Linked DNA regions of Homo sapiens: all the other regions are linked to region 2. The links are contacts of gene promoters, found by promoter capture Hi-C in human tissues and cell types (Jung and others, 2019). All regions are on one chromosome and are shown on one strand. The core of a region is centred on a gene start or on the middle of the fragment in contact, and the rest is flanking DNA. Distances in the headings are between cores, read along the strand shown. Region 1 overlaps TRAPPC9 (trafficking protein particle complex subunit 9). Region 2 holds the start of C8orf17 (chromosome 8 putative open reading frame 17). Region 3 overlaps TRAPPC9 (trafficking protein particle complex subunit 9).

Region 1 (3,857 bases), core at 988-3,487, 160 kb before region 2:
CCCCAAACACTAGGGCGCAGAGATGGAAAGAAAGAGGAGTTCTGACAGCCTCAGGCTCCCTCACCAGCTCTGCCAGCCCTGACGGGATGCGTGTCCTTGGGCGTGTCTGCCACCTGCTCAGGCTCAGCCCATCTGTAAAAGGAGGGGGCAGGCCAGGGAGTGTCTCTGCTCCCGTACTGGGGTCTGGCCATCCACAGTTGGCTCCACACCCCTGTGGCCCCTCATGCTGCAGTAATGCCCCCAGGCTGGGCCTGGCCTCCCTGTGCCCATCATGATCCTCCTACCTCAACAGTTGGCACAGTGGCTGTGCTCTGGGAGCCTCTCTCCCCAGGTTGCCTCTAAAATGTCACAACTGATTCCCCAAATGCAAGTTGTGGCTCTGTCTAAGTCCTTCAATAAATATGTACTGACTTCTGCACCAGGGGCTCTGGAATCAGACCTGTGTTCAGATCAGGACCTGGGAGTGCACACGCGGCCCCAGGTGCTCCTCCTCATTGATAACGACCTAACCGGCATCACGTGGGGACTCAGCAGCCCTTCCATGCAAGGTGCTCAACACACAGTTTCTATCATTAAGGTCCCCGCTCCTGAGGTCACTCACTGGAGGGAGACAACAGATCGGTCTCAGGCTCAGCCCTCTGCCCACAAGAGCTCCCCGCCTGGCTCCTCCTAAGAACACTTTCTTCAAGGCCCAAGCCAACGGAATGTCACATCCTTTGGGAATCATCCCTGTTCTCCTGAGGGAATTGCTGTCTTGTGCGTCCCGCAGACCTGTGGCTACAGCACTTATCATATGCTCTCTTGCGTCCTCACCTGCATGTCTGTGCCCACCACATGACTGTGAGCCCCTGGAGTGCGGCCCTGGCACAGGGCCCGGCTGGCAGTTGCTGGACCATGCCCCCTGGACTGTGCCCCCTGCTATGCCTGCTGAGGACGCCAACGAGGACCCTGATGATGACAAGGCCACGTGTCAGCTACCACATGGCTCCAGGTGCTTTACACATCATCTGATTTAGTGGAGACCTGGCGAGGCAGGAATTACTATTTCTTATATAACAAATAAGGCATCCTCTGAGAGGCGTAGGGACTAGCCCACATCACACAGCTAGACAGGGTACAGCACAGATGTGAGCCAAGTCTGTGCGCCTCCAAAGCCTTGCTTTTCCCACTCTGCCTGTGTTTTCTGAAGTGAGCTAAGTTCATCAACACGGGTAGAAAATGCAAACTGCTACCAGAGAAGGAGGATCCGTTTCTTCTGACACCAACAGGATGGCTGTCCCACAGAGCATCCCATCCTCACGAGGGCAGCATCCCGTCCTCACGAGGGCTCCGTCCCAGACAAAGTGGGAGGGAGTGAAAGGCCTCCAATGCTGGGTGAGACGGATCCAGGAGGAACATGCTGGCAGGTGCATGTGGGGGTGGAAGGGGGAGGGAGAGAAGATTCCAGATGGAGGGAACAGATGAACCAAGGTGCAGAGGTAGAGGCTTGGGCTTGAGCTGCACCAAGTAGCCCCTCTGGCCAGGCCCAGATTCTGCACAGAGAAGTGGAAATAACAAGCAGGACAAGCACTTCATCAAAGAAGAAACGCCAGCCACTGATGAGCACGTGGCAAGGCGCCAGGCCTCTCCAGTAATCAAAGAATGCAGGCTGAGAGACTGTAGCACAATTCTTTTTGGCCTAGTAGACTGGCATAGATTTTTAAGGAAAATAAAAGCTATTGCTGGCAAGAGTCAAGGGAAATGGATATTTTCATACATGGCTGATTAGAGTCTAAAAGCTGTAATATTTATGGAGGGCAACCTCACAAGTAGCAAACAGCCTTGAAAAATATACAGACCCTTTGACTCAGGGTCTATTCACATTGTTAATATGGGCAGATTTATAATACAACATTATTAATATGGCCAGATTTATAATATGGGCAGTATTGTAACACTGAGAAACTAAAAACTCCCTATAGTCCAAAAATATGGGGGGATGGGCTAAATACTTTCTGGAACATTTGCATAAAGGAATACTATGTAGCCATTAAAAATCATAATTTACATGTAGATTTGGCATGGAACATATTAAGTAAAAGCATAGTTTTACATATTAAGTAAAAGCATAGAAGAAATACATAAAGGAGGCAGTCATTTACTCAGCATTGAGGATCTGGTGCCTCCCAGGTGCTGGACCCTGGAGCCACAGCAGTGAATATGACAGCTGTGACCCTAGCTCCTGCAGTTCCCTGGGCAGTCAGGGAACTGGGGGCACGGGGCAGGCAGGTTTTGCCACCCACCAGTGGTGGGCCAGGCCCTGCGGGCCACACCGACTGCGCTGGCCTGGAAGACCCTGGCCATATTTTCAGTGATGTCTAATTTTGAATAAAATATGTACCTGGAAAATCATCTAGAAAGCTGCATACCTATCTGTTAGTGGTCACCATCTCTGGATGGTGGGATTTCTGGTAATAGTCCATTTCTTCTTTGTGTTCACCTCCAATTGTTAGTTTTCTACAATGAGCATGACTTCCGTTTTCATTTTAATTCATCAACAGGGGTTATCTAAACACAGAGCTCATAGCTCACTTTTATTCTAATCTTTGTACAGCTCTATTAAATGTCTACTAACATACGTGACACCTAGTGTTAGGGGCTGAATCGTGACTCCAAAAATTCCCATGTTGAAGCCCTAAAGCCCAGTACAATACCTCGGGGGGGAATGTATTTAGAGACAGGGCCTTCAAAGACATACAAAGTAAAATGAGGCCCAAGATGGGCCCAATCCTCTCGGACTGGTGTCATTATAAGAGGAGATTAAAACAGACACACACAGAGGGAAGACACAGGAAGAAGGCAGTCGTCTACAGGCCAAGGAGCGAGGCCTCAGAAGAAACCAGTGCTGCCGACATCTTGACCTTGAATTTCTATGAATTTCGAGACTCCACAACTGTCAGAAATAACTTTTTGTTGTCTAAGCCACACAGTCTGTAGTGCTTTGTTAGAAAAACTACTACAGTAACCCTGTTATCCTCGGGGGCAGGTTCCAAGACCCCCAGTGGACGGCTGAAACCTCAGATAGTACTGAACCCTATATACACTATGTTTTTTCCTCGACATACATACCTATGATAAAGTTTAACTTATGTATTAGGCATAGTGAGAGACTTACAATATTAACTAATAACACAAAAGAACAATTGAGTAAAATAAGAGTGACTGAATGCCAGCACTACAACACAGCAGCTGATCTGACGGCAGACACCTCCTAGGTGGCTCAGGGTGGGGAATGTGCACAGCGTGGATTCACTGGACAAAGGGAGATGCAGGGCATGACGGGCAAGATGTCACCATGCTACTCTGAGCACTGCACAATTTAAAACCTACGAATTGTTTATTTCTGGAATTTTCCATTTCACATTTTCAATCTATGGTTGAACGAGGGTCACTGAAACCAAGGAAAGCAAAACCGAGGATAAGGGAGGACTGCTGCACTTCCAGATACTTTTAGAAAGAAGCAAATGCAAACACAGAATACAAACAAAAATAAAGTGAAGAATAAAAATAAGATTGAATAGTAATGATCCAAAGGCTTAAAATAAGCAGTAACCTAGATCTCATAGGTCAGAGAAAATGAGTGGAAGAACTAATATTCACTAAATTTTAGGTAGAGCATGAATTACTTTTATACTGATTTGTACAAATTGTTTAAAACATGCTTAAAAAGAAGAAGAAATACATAAAGGAAGTGGTCATTTACTCAGCATCTAGGATCTGGTGCCTGCCGGGTGCTGGACCCTGGAGCCACAGCAGTGAATATGACACTTGTGACCCTAGCTCCTGCAACTCCCCAGGGAAGGCAGGGAACTGGGGGC
Region 2 (3,500 bases), core at 861-3,360:
TCTACTGAAAGCTTGGGGTCACCAGGATAACAGATAACGTCTGATACATTTGAGTTAAGACAAGGTGCCTTGAAATAACTTTAGTGCAATGCCGTTCTCAAACACAGCAGTGGTCCCAGGCTTACAATAAAAAAAAAGGGAGGGGGCCGAGCGTGGTGGCTCACGCCTGTAATCCCAGCACTTTGGAAGGCCGAGGTGGGCGGATCATGAGAAAAAAAAAAAAGCTGAGCTGTCCTGTGCTTCGGGCAGCCTCAGTTCTTGGCTTTGGTTTTCTCTCCACACAGAGTTACCGTGCTGCCTGCTGCTTCTTCCTGAGCTACAGGCTTCCATGGTCTTCCAGAAGAATACTGTCCTCTTCTGAAACCATGTTTCTGCATATGCCCTGCTGCTTCAGGAACCATGGTGCCATGCACCCGACACATAGGTGTGTGGGGAGTGGACTCAGGTCCCTTGGCTGGTCACCCAGCAAGCCTGGGCAGCGCTGGCCAGGTGTTCAAGGAAGGCCCAGCAGAGCAGGCTAAGCTGGGATGGGCCTCTGGGGTCTGCCCTCCCCACCTTTCCATCCTCATCTCCAGCCCAGCCCCTCTCTGCCTCAGACCCTTCCATGTCCTGTAAAATGGAGCAAGCACCACCTTGTAGGTGCAGTCCTCAGGAGCAGCACCTGACACACAGAAGGCCATCAATATACGTGTTTGGCACTGTGCGTGGATTCTGCCGATTCTCTACACTTCTCTGTTATGAACAGGTAATTTAAAGAAAACATTGAGCATCGTGAATGGCATATGCTAGGGGCTGAACAAGCATAACTTCACTTCTCTTATTTCTGGGACCTCCCAGATGCCTAAGAGGTGACAGCCAAGGGGGTGACACTCAGGAAGAGCTGAGACCCTTAAGCCTTCTACGCACTATCTTAATGCATGTTTACCCCTCCATCCCAACTCCTGAGATGGGAAGGCTTATAGTGTGGGGCAGTGGGGCTGCGCCAGCCGGGAGTTGATGTGTAACGTGAACAAGATACAGCCAAGGTGAGCAGTGGCAAGGCCAGCGCGCTCACACAACACGGTTCTCGCCAGTCAACTTCTCCCGTGGTGTCGGTAGGGCAGGTGGGTGGCTCAGGATCACAGGGAAAACAAGGGGGTCGATGACTAGAGCCAAGCCTTGGAAAGGGACTTCTGTTCTGCTTTCCAAGCAGCAATGCTCGCATCAGACAGGAGATAGTCACACCCCTCTTTTTTCCATCCTAGACATCAAACAGACAAAATGGTACCAGTGACAGATTAATATTCAAAGGCCATCTTGATCCTTCTAGACCCGTCAAATACAATAAGGAGCATCCCCCGTGTTTAGCCCCATGGAGGAGGGAACTTATTTTGCAATGAGATTTCGTTTTCAACCAATCCTAGTAACCGGCCTTCCAGAGCTGGAGCTCCCTTAGAAACCCAGCCTCATTCCACCGCTGTCTCATAGATGAGACCCTCTGAGGAGACGCTCAAAACAGGGAAGGAGGCGAAAACGGGGCCACCCAAGGGTTATGAGGATGAAATCACGACGACAGCAACACTGTTGAGTGCTCAGTGTACGCTGGACACCTGCATTAGCTCATTGACTCTGCACTCGGTGGTGCCCCCTTTCATAGGTATGGAAAAAGGCACATGCAGGGTGCCCACCCTGCTGGAATCAGCCCTCAGGTCATGGAGCCTGTTCCCTGTCTGTCCAGGAAGCAACCCCGAGGCCCTGGCTCTTGTCCTCCCACCTCCCAAACTGCCCCAAAGGGGTGAGGAAAAGAGCTTCTAGATGATTCTAACCCCACCTCTATAACCGCAAGCTGTGAGATCCTCGGGAAACACTTCGACCTCATGAGGCTCAGTTTTCTAATCTGAAAAATGAGAATATTAACCATAGACAACTGCCACTCACTGAACACCAGCTGCAGTAGAGCCGAGCATACACGTAATCCTCACCGCAACCATAGGAGCTGGATCCTGACATCCCCATCTCACAGAGGAGGAGACTGAGGTTAATGACGTGGCAAATATCCACAATGACAGTTTCTGCAAGTCTTTCCTAGTGCAATCACCCACAACCACAGCCCTAGAAAGAAGGATGAACACTCTTCCACAGAGGCTGGCACGCACCTTAAGGCAGGTGCCCACTGGAACCCTGTCTGTGGTGTCAAGGATTTTACAGTTGACCTTGAAGACCACCTAGTCCAAAGCTCTCATTGTACAAAAAGCCAAGCCCAGAGGTCACACAAAGCTTTGGACCTGAGCCTCTGGGCCCCGCGGTCTGGAAAGTGCTCCTTTCTCTGCATGCTACGGGGCTATCAACTTGAGCTGGTCCAGTCTGCAGATCTACATCCTGCCCGCCTGAGCAGAGGCGGGTGTGGGACCAGTGCGGATCTCCACGATTTGTCAGCCCATCCTGATAAGTCTGAGGCTCTGACCATCATATCTCATCACAGCATCATTAGGATTACAAGTGCCATGCGGTAGAAGAGGAAGGGAAACACGAACAAAAGGATGAGAAATTAAGCCCATTTCACCCGGAAAAGATGACTCTGATTTATTGCTCTATAGCAGCTGACGATGGCCTGTCAGAGAAATTCTGTGTTGAAAATAAAGAATAAAAATCACCCAGAGTTGTTTTGCCACACATCCAAATTAGAAAATGCTACTCTCCGGATGATTTATGCTTCAATTTTTTCCCTTATTCACAGAGAATTTGTCCAGCATTACAAGAGCACCTAAGAGCAATAATACAATTCAAAAGGAGATAGAAGAGGCCGCAGAGGTGTTGATGTGCGGCTGAGGGCGGGGTGCTGGCCCAAAGGCAGGGCTTTGGTGCTCAGAAGCATTGACCTTACAGGGAGGAACAAGGAGAAACCAGCCAGGCAGGCCCCGCAGGCAGCCCACAGAGCCACTTCGCCGTGCAGCCGAGGGAGTCCCGCACCACGGGGCCTCGCTCAGGGTAGCCACCATGGGAGAATGTCCCCACCTCGTGGATGTCAGGCTTGGCCACAGGTCCTTGGCCACGGGACCTGAGCAGAGTGACATATGCCACACTGGATCAGAAGCACGCTGGACCACCACGTGGTATGGCTCCCTTTCTTTCTCCCGTCATAAGTACAAGATGTTGGCTGACCTGACTCCTGGGGTAGAAATGTCATGTAGACACTGGGCGCGGTGGCTCACGCCTGTAATCCCAGCACTTTGGAAGGCCGAGGCAGGTGGATTGCCTGAGCTCAGGAGTTCGAGACCAGCCTGGACAACATGGTGAAACCCGTCTCTACTAATTTACAAAAAAAATTAGCCAGGTGTGTTGGCACATGCCTGTAGTCCCAGCTACGTGGGAGGCTGAGGCACGAGAATTGCCTGAACCCCAGAGGTGGAGGTTGCAGTGAGCCGAGATGGTACCTCTGCACTGCAGCCTGGGCAACAGAATGAGACTGTGTCTTCAAAAAAAAAAAGCACTGTCATGCAGGGCAGGGTCCCAAGGCCCCA
Region 3 (3,643 bases), core at 66-2,565, 150 kb after region 2:
TCCCTTCTCTGGTTAAAAGCCTTCAATAGTAGCCTATAGGATGATATCCAGGCTCACCACATGACACTCAAGGGCCTTCATGATCTGACCCAAGCCTACCTTTCTAAAAGGCCAGCATGGAAATCAGAATGTATCACTTCCCCAGTGCTAATGTCGCCTTCTGAGTTCTTCTGCCCAAGAACCGCCGAGGACAAGGCTGCTGACTGACAGGCAGGCCCAGGACTGTCCAAGGCTCCCAGTGGTGAGCAGCATCCTGAAAGATCTGGCATGGTCCTTGGCCCCTCAGCCAGGTGATGCATCTGTCAGAAAGCCCTGGCTCTGGGGCCTGAAACCTCAAAGGGTAGGATAAGCTTTTTCCTCCCTTGGAGACGTTTACCAAGCATGAGTAAGTGCCAGCCACAGGGCTAAGCTCTTGCCTGGTATCTTCTATCCTTGGAGTAAGTGTATCATTAGGCTCCTGTTACAGACAGGAAACTGATATCCAGTGGGGTATGGTAACTTGCCCAAGAGGAGAGGCCTGGGATGAGCGTTAGGCTGGACTCCGAGGCCTATGCTCGCAACGCTCGACTCTGAAAGCTTTACATCTGTGTGATCTATAGCCAATCCAGGTACAGATTCATGGAGAGTGGAGATGGGGGTGCAGGGAGAGCACACTCTGCAGAGCTCCATGTTTCACTGCAAACACCTTTTGCAAACCTCATGCCCCATGACTCTTTGAAAAAGAGAGTTCCCCGACGCTCCACAGTCTCTCCTGCTGTAGTTACAGGAGTGACGTGGACTATGTGATGAAGGCTCCACGAGCCCACACGCCCACGTCCAGCAGGACTACACCACTTGCCCTTATTTTACACTTTGGGTTCCTGCTGCATAAGTATGTTTGCAGAAAGAATCTTACTGTTTAAAAAAAAAAAAAAAGGCTTGGAAACCACTGGTCTAGACTGAAAAACAGAAATTTCAACCTCTTGTATCTTTACCATCCTGATAAAATCTCTCTCTTTAAATATAAACCATCCTTTCTTTTCCATGCAGAAGCTCTTTCTGTTGTGAAATGAGAACCACCAAAACCTCTCTCGAATGGAAATGCCAGGGAAGCCCCGTCAGGCAGCCCGGCCTAAGCTCTGAGGACTGGGTTCACTGAAGCCGACGTGCTGGAGGGAGCCCAGGACTTTCAATCCCACCAGGTGACCAATTCTGCTATTTCAGAGTGAGCATCCCCCTTCTGCTCTGCCTACTCACTTAGAGAAGAAAGGGGCAAGTCATGGACGGCAGCAGCCTGCTGAGGTCCACGCCACCCTGCCCCTACAAAAGCAGATGACAGCCTCTGCTGTGGGTAATCGTGTCCCGATCTGGCGCGTTCCACATGGGGAGCCACAGCCTATCTCTGTCAACGCATTGCCTCTCATTTCTCTGATTCATTGTTAAAAATAAACATTTCTTCTTCAAAGTGCTGGCAGAACTCTCCCCTAAGCCTATAGCTTCCCCCCACCCCACACCCCCTTAGGAATCACTGTGGTTTTTTCTAAGGGTAGGCTGGCAGAAGGAAATAAAAATGAAGCCGTTCAGACTTGCACACACAACTCTAAGAAGACTTCTCCATTTTCTAACTATGACTTTCCCCACCTGAAGCAGAAGGCAACCTAGCAGGTTACCAGATCCTTCCCATCCTCCTGAAGACTAAACCAGAAACAAAGCCTAACCAGGGCTTGGATCGTGTGCTGGAGAGCGGGTATGGTGTGGGTGAAAGACACAGGTTTTGAAATGTGCTACCACAAAGAAAGTACAAGAGGATCCCAGAGTATGGAGGATGAAGAAGGAGGGGAGAGAGGAGATGGTGGGAGAGGAAGAAGGACAGGGGAAGACGATGAAAGGAGCAGGGAGAGGCAAGAAGAGACAGAAGAAGCGGGGTAGAAATGGAAGGGGAGCAGGTGAGGCAGTCGGTTGAAATGACACGTCTCTCCACCAACAATTTTGCACTGCAGCCCCACATAGCCCCTTTCCTCTGTGATGAGGGCAGCAGCCTCCCCATGGCTCTCAGGGGCCACAGCTCCACCTGTGCCCTGGTGCCCAGCTCCTGCTGCCTCTGGGGGATTGGTCCCAGGCACCCCATCCCGTCCTGCTCCACCCGTCTCTTCCACTGTTCAATCCTTGTCAGTGCACACAATCACACACTGCCAACACCACCTTCAAAACATCCCTCTCTCGGCCAGGCGTGGTGGCTCATGCCTGTAATCCCAGCACTTTGGGCGGCCGAGGCTTGGGATCCTGGGTGGATCACAAGGTCAGGAGTTCAAGACCAGCCTGACCAAGATGGAGAAACCCCATCTCTACTTTTTTAAAAATACAAAAATTAGCCGGGTGCAGTGGCAGGCGCCTGTAATCCCAACTACTCGGGAGGCTGAAGGAGAATTGCTTGAACCCAGGTGGCAGCAGTTGCAGTGAGCCAAGATCACGCCACTGTACTCTAGCCTGGGCAACAGAGTGAGACTGTCTCAAAAAAAGAAAAAAAAAATCCCTCTCTTCATCCCACACCTCCCTCCAGCCACCATCCTGTTTCCCTGTTCTCTACAGCAGAGCTCCTGCAAGCACTGCCTGCTCGGGCTGGCTCTACTTCTTGCCACCGTCAGCCTGCCATCCTCCTACTCCTCTGAAATGACTCTTTCCAATCTCAAAGCCAGTGGTCAACATCCTGGCCTTGTCTTCCTGACGTTCTCAGCAGCTGTCATTTGCTCCTAAGCCACGCCCCATGTTTCCAGCTTTTGAGCTGCCTGCTTTTCTTCCCAGTCCCTGGCTCTTCCTCCTCTGTCTCCCGTGCCCTCCCCCCGGCCCCATCACCCTGCAGATGTCGGGGTGCCTCGAAAGCACAGCACTCTATCTCTGCAACCCCCTCAGGAATGTCATCCAGGCCCAGGATTTTAAACGCTGCCTCTAAGCTGCTGACTCTCACACTTCTCCCTCCAGCCCAGACCTCTCCCTGGAGCACAGATGGAACACCAACAGGCTCCCGCACAGCCCCGCTGAAGAGCCGAACGGTGCTCACACATGACTCGCCTGAAGAATATGGTTGTGTTTTCCCCACATTCTAATCCCCACCGAGCTTCCTCCATCTCAGTAAATAAAACAACCACCGTCCAGCTGCTCAGGCCAAAACCTTAAAAGACACCCTTGCTTATTCTTCAGTGCATCTAAGGTCTGACCACTGTCGCCAACCTCCTCTGCTGCCGCCCTCATCCAAGCCACTGTCATCGCTTGTCTGGACAATGCCACTGGCTCCCCACCTCGTCTCCCCTGCCTCTACTCGTCCACGTTTCCCTCTCCACCCTGCAATCCATCTCCAACCAGCAGTCACAGTGACCATTCTCATGCATGACGAGCAACCGCACCATTCCCTGGCTCTCTCCTGCAGCTTGTCGCCGCCAGCCCCAGAAAAACCCACCATCACTGACAAGGTCCTGGAGAGCAGGCTTCAGCTCCCAGCTCCTCCATTACCACGTGGTACCATCTCTGGGCCTCTGCACCAGCTGTGATTTCTGCTTGGAAGATGTGGCTTACCAGAGCCCCTAGCTCTTTAGATGGCTATCTCTTTCTCATGGTTCAGACCTCAGGACAAATGCTACCTCCTCAAGAGATGCTCCTTGGTCACTCT

Evidence for each region. The method cuts DNA at HindIII sites, captures the fragments that hold promoters and counts their contacts. A contact is called where the count stands out against the background at its distance.
Region 1: a contact is called between a fragment that was not itself captured here and the fragment with the promoter of C8orf17 in region 2, in 2 of the 25 tissues and cell types used here (aorta and hippocampus).
Region 3: a fragment that was not itself captured here is called in contact with the fragment with the promoter of C8orf17 in region 2 in 1 of the 25 tissues and cell types used here (dorsolateral prefrontal cortex).

The regions. Positions count from the first base shown.
Region 1 is chr8:139,766,131-139,769,987 of GRCh38, forward strand. The region is part of intron 21 of TRAPPC9 (trafficking protein particle complex subunit 9); the gene reads right to left. Among named protein-coding and RNA genes, the nearest start is that of KCNK9, 65 kb to the left of the region's middle. The HindIII fragment of the contact is 9,949 bases long and covers 1-3,857 here.
Region 2 is chr8:139,929,310-139,932,809 of GRCh38, forward strand. It overlaps C8orf17 (chromosome 8 putative open reading frame 17), which reads left to right and starts at 2,111. Exons shown (of 1, transcript NR_172942.1): 1 at 2,111-3,500. The region is part of intron 19 of TRAPPC9 (trafficking protein particle complex subunit 9); the gene reads right to left. The HindIII fragment of the contact is 16,447 bases long and covers 1-3,500 here.
Region 3 is chr8:140,084,439-140,088,081 of GRCh38, forward strand. All of the region lies in intron 17 of TRAPPC9 (trafficking protein particle complex subunit 9), which reads right to left. Among named protein-coding and RNA genes, the nearest start is that of PEG13, 14 kb to the right of the region's middle. The HindIII fragment of the contact is 6,549 bases long and covers 1-3,643 here.